Regions from separate parts of the Homo sapiens genome. Here region 2 is linked to region 1. The links are contacts of gene promoters, found by promoter capture Hi-C in human tissues and cell types (Jung and others, 2019). All regions are on one chromosome and are shown on one strand. The core of a region is centred on a gene start or on the middle of the fragment in contact, and the rest is flanking DNA. Distances in the headings are between cores, read along the strand shown.

Region 1 (2,547 bases), core at 19-2,518:
TGAGCTAGACACAAAGGTTCTCCACGTCCCCACTAGATTAACTAGATACAGAGTGTTGACAGAAAGGTTCTCCAAGGCCCCACCAGAGTAGCTAGATACAGAGTGTCGACTGGTGCATTCACAAACCCTGAGCTAGACACAGGGTGCTGATTGGTGTGTTTACAAACCTTGAGCTAGATACAGAGTGCCGATTGGTGTAGTTACAATCCCTGAGCTAGACATAAACGTTCTCCACGTCTCCACCAGACTCAGGAGCCCAGCTGGCTTCGCCCAGTGGATCCCGCACCGGGGCTGCAGGTGGAGCTGCCTGCCAGTCCCGCGCCGTGCACCCGCACTCCTCAGCCCTTGGGTGGTCGATGGGACTAGGCACCGTGGAGTAGGGAGCGGCGCTCATCGGGGAGGCTCGGGCCGCACAGGAGCCCACGGAGTGGGTGGGAGGCTCAGGCATGGCGGGCTGCAGGTCCCGAGCCCTGCCCCGCGGGAAGGCAGCTAAGGCCCGGCGAGAAATCGAGCGCAGCGCCAGTGGGCTGGCACTGCTGGGGGACCCAGCACACCCTCCGCAGCCGCTGGCCCGGGTGCTAAGCCCCTCATTGCCCGGGGCCGGCAGGGCCGGCCTGCTGCTCCCAGTGCGGGGCCCGCCAAGCCCACGCCCACTCGGAACTCCAGCTGGCCCGCAAGCGCGGCGCGCAGCCCCGGTTCCCGCTCACGCCTCTCCCACCACACCTCCCTGCAAGCTGAGGGAGCCGGCTCCCACCTTGGCCAGCCCAGAAAGGGGCTCCCACAGTGCAGCGGTGGGCTGAAGGGCTCCTCAAGTGCCGCCAAAGTGGGAGCCCAGGCAGAGGAGGCCTGGAGAGCGAGCAAGGGCTGTGAGGACTGCCAGCACGCTGTCACCTCTCAGCTTGGGTGCTGCAACAGGCAAAGCAGCAGCCTGGGTTTCTCCAGCCCCGTCACTCGAACCCACGGGCTCATCACCGCACGGTGCGGCCAGACGCCCTTTCTCCTACGTTGGGAGCGAATCTCCTCGGCTCACACAACCCAGCCACCGGCTCCCACCGCGCTGGAACCCCTCTGGCAGCGAGGGTTTGTCCCAGTGCGGGTGACGCCCGGAAAGGAACCAGTCCCAACAGCGCAGGAGACTGAGGGGTCCCTCCACCAGGATCCGCTCACCTGCTTCCAGGTGTGTCGCCTAAGAGCGGCTCCTGTTCACTTTCGTTCCGCAGGCCGGCCATAGTTACACTCCCTACAAGGCGTCTTGCGCCCAACTCTCGCGACACCTGCTTTCTCCCATCCCGGGTGGCGTGAAGCTGGCAAAACAAGCCTGTAAGTGCGCGTGCGCACCTGACGGTCAGACGTAGGCGGAACGCCCCGAGGTCATAGGCGGGGTCACGCGGAAGGCCGGGCAGCGCAGGGCGAAAGGAGGCTGTGTCCTCAGCCTCCTCCCTCGGCACGCGCCTCCCATCCTGACGGGGACTGAGAGCCCAGGAGAGCTCGGGGCGTGTCCAAACTGCCGCGCCGCCCTGCTCCGGGTTTGTCTTCCTCCCTCCGTTTCTCCTTCCGCTGTATCTAGCATTTCGGTTCCTGGAAAGGTTACCGGAGCTGCGATTGGGGCTGGGACCAAAGTTGAGTCCTGGAAAGGGAGCCTGGAGAGCGGCGGTGCTGGGAGGCCCGGCCAGCTCGATCGCAGGCTTCCACCTGGCGGCCAGTAAGTAGCCGGTCCGGTTAAGTAGTAGGTGCGCTAAGAGCTCCCCGCGCCTCTTAGCGCGCCGTGTACGCGCCTGGAGGCAGGGACCGGGGACGCGGAGCTGGGCGGGAGACTCGCGGGTCAGGGACGCGGGGTGAGGCTGGGGGTGAGAGACAAGGCTGGAGTCCGTGGCGCGCTTCGGAGGGCTGAGATAATGGGGGCGAGCGCGCGGGCAGTCCCTTCCCCCCGTGAAAGGTAGAGGTGGCTTCCAGCTCTCTTCTCTAGCTCGGCTAAATGCAAAGGCGCCTTACCTGGAGGGCTTGTCAGAGCCAGGACTGAAGGTGGGATCTGCTGCTTGTAACCTGCAGGTCCCCGGATGCGCACCCCAACGGCGCCTGCGCCTACGGGGGCCTCAGCCTTGCAAAATGTCACTCAGCAGAGCCTGCTGCTGAAACGTGGGAGTTGAAAAAGGTACAGCACCTGCCTAGCAATGACCAGCTCCTTTCGTCACAAGGAAGATGACATTTTTAGAAAACATGTCATGGGTTTTCACTAGATCTCCATGTTTATTTCTTGGTGGTTATGTATTAACATCTTATCTCTACTATTAGGCTTGTAGGCTAGCTGGCGTCAGTAGTCATTCTGTGTCTCATAAATTACCGTTTTATTAGCGCCAGATACATTGTCATGTAATTTCATTTGATCACAAGTATCCTATGAGATAGGCGAAGCAGACACATTGCTAGTTTACTGAAAATTAAGATCCAGACAAGTTAACCCAGAGTCACTCTGTGTGGAAGTGGCAAAGTTGGAAACCAAACTTAATTTTTTTAAATTAATATTTATGAGCATTTACCCTATGCTAG
Region 2 (2,547 bases), core at 33-2,532, 58 kb before region 1:
TAGAGCTGTTTCTTTTAAGTAGACAAGTAGACAATGTTATGATTATTCAACATTGTTTTGGAGGTTTTTGCCTCAGACAATAAGGAAGAAAAATAATACTTATATTTGCAACATAAATTGCAGAACTGATATTAAACTACCACCATACCCCTCTCCCAGAGAAAACCAGTAACAGAAAAAAGGGGATTGAAGGAAATTTTCTGTTGTCACACAGTAGAAAAATGGACAAGACATATGAATTGATAGTTCACAAAGGAAGGAAGTCCATATGGTCAATAAAAAGGAAATATGCTCAACCTCATAAAAGTTGGGGAAATGCAAAGTTAAAGCAAGATAATAATTTTCCTTTATCAAAGAATGGGTTTAAGATTAAGTAATAGCCCAGTGCAGTGGCTCATGCCTGTAATCCCAGCACTTTGGGAGGCCAAGGCAGGCAGGTCCCCTGAGGTCAGGAGTTCAATACCAGCCTGGCCAACATGGTGAAGCAGTGTCTCTACTAAAAATACAAAAATTAGCGAGGTTAGGTGGTGCACGCCTCTAATCCCAGCCACTTGGGAGACTGAGGCACGAGAATCTCTAGAACCCGGGAGGTGGAGGTTGCAGTGAACTGAGATAGCGCCACTGCACTCCAGCCTGGGTGACAGAGCAAGGCTCTGTCTTTAAAAAAAAAAAAAAAATTGAAATAATAATGCTCACAATATGTATAAGACATTCTCAGGTGTTGATTAGGGTGTAAATGATAACTGTGAAAGTAATATGGCAGTATCTATAAGAATTACCACATTGATAATCCAACTTTGGGGAAAGGAAGGATGTAAGCCCTTAGAGAAAATATGATCAGTAATAACAATTTCCCTTTAAAAATTGAAATAAAATGCCAGGCACAGTGGCTCATGCCTGTAATCCTAACACTTTGGGAGGCCAAGGCGGGTGAATCACTTGAGGTCAGGAGTTCAAGACCAGCCTGGCAAACATGGTGAAACCCCATCTCTACTAAAAATACAAAAATTAGCTGGGCATGGTGGCACACGCCTGTAATCCCAGCTACTCGGGAGGCTGAGGCAGGAGAATTGCTTGAACCTGGGAGACAGAGGTTGCAGTGAGCCAAGATCATGCCACTGCACTCCAGCCTGGGCAACAGAGCAAGACTCTGTCTCAAAAATAAATAAAATAAAAATGGAAATAAAGTAATCCCGAGCTAAATTTTATTTTATTTTATTATTTTTTTTAGACGGAGTCGCCTTCTGTCACCCAGGCTGGAGTGCAGTGGCATGATCTCGGCTCACTGCAACCTCTGCCTCTCAGGTTCAAGCGATTCATCTGCCTCAGCCTCCCAAATAGCTGGAATTGTAGACATGTGCCACCATGCCCAGCTAATTTTTGTATTTTTAGTAGAGATGGGGTTTCAACATGTTGGCCAGGCTGGTCCCGAACTCCTGACCTCAAGTGATCCACCTGTCTCGGCCTCCGAGAGTGCTGGGATTACAGGCGTGAGCCACCGCACCTGGCCTGAGCTAAATTTTAAAGGCCAATGACTCAAAACATACATTTCTGCTTTGACAGATGTTAACTAGTATACTTTTTATTATCTCTTCGTCTTTATGAGTGAGTCTATTTTTTAAGTATTTTTCTTATACATAACATATAGCTAAATTTTATTTTGATTACAATTTAATAACTTCTAATTTTTACATATATTGTTATTTCTGGCTGTCTTATTGTCATTACAGTTCTATTTGGATTTATGTCTAGCAATTAATTTTGTGCTTTCTAGCATGTACTATATTTTTGCTTTGCTTTTCTTTTTTTCCTGTTACTTCTTTCAAGCTGAGTTTCCTTTAATCCCCTTTTTTCTCTCTACTCGTTTTCTCTGGGGGAGGGGTATGGTGGTAGTTTAATATTCAATGTTTATATTACTGTGACTATGAAAATATTCATAGCTCCGCCAGGCGCAGTGGCTCACACCTGTAATCCCAGCACTTTGGGAGGCCAAGGGAGGCGGATCACCTGAGGTCGGGAGTTCGAGATCAGCATGACCAACATGAAGAAACCTCATCTCTACTAAAAATACAAAATTAGCCAGGCATGGTGGCACATGCCTGTAATCCTAGCTACTCTGGAGGCTGAGGCAGGAGAAACTCCAGGAAGCAGAGGTTGCGGTGAGCCGAGATCGCACCATAGCATTCCAGCCTGAGCAACAAAAGCGAAACTCCATCTCAAAAAAAAAAAAAGAAAGAAAAAGAAAAAAAGAAAATACTCACAGCTGAACTATGTACTATGCTAGAATTATATTTCTTGAACAATTTTTTTTCTGGAATTCTTTTGTTTTCTCTGATATGTCAGGTAATCTGTCTGTGCTTTTTTGTTGATCCATTTATCCCCTCTTTTGGAGACATCTCTCTGCTTTCCTTTTTCTACCTGGACTGGTTCCTTTGTAGTTTTCCAGTGTAGGAATGTACAGCAGTTTGTTTATATGTTATACTGTTGATGGACATTTGAGTTGTTTCCAGATTTTGGCTGTAAATATATACTTTATGAACATCTTCT

The links. Contacts are between HindIII fragments. The study calls those that stand out against the background at their distance.
Region 2: a contact is called between a fragment that was not itself captured here and the fragment with the promoter of MFSD8 in region 1, in 1 of the 25 tissues and cell types used here (H1 embryonic stem cells).

What each region holds. Positions count from the first base shown.
Region 1 is chr4:127,963,905-127,966,451 of GRCh38, forward strand. MFSD8 (major facilitator superfamily domain containing 8) reads right to left here and starts at 1,269. Exons shown (of 12, transcript NM_001371596.2): 1 at 1,168-1,269. The coding sequence starts at 1,229. It overlaps ABHD18 (abhydrolase domain containing 18), which reads left to right and starts at 1,502. Exons shown (of 13, transcript NM_001358451.3): 1 at 1,502-1,702. RefSeq lists silencers at 226-335, 446-575, 586-635, 1,756-1,985 and enhancers at 1,076-1,495, 1,086-1,701, 2,380-2,547. The HindIII fragment of the contact is 8,084 bases long and covers 1-2,547 here.
Region 2 is chr4:127,905,800-127,908,346 of GRCh38, forward strand. No RefSeq gene overlaps it. Among named protein-coding and RNA genes, the nearest start is that of PLK4, 26 kb to the left of the region's middle. The HindIII fragment of the contact is 8,501 bases long and covers 1-2,547 here.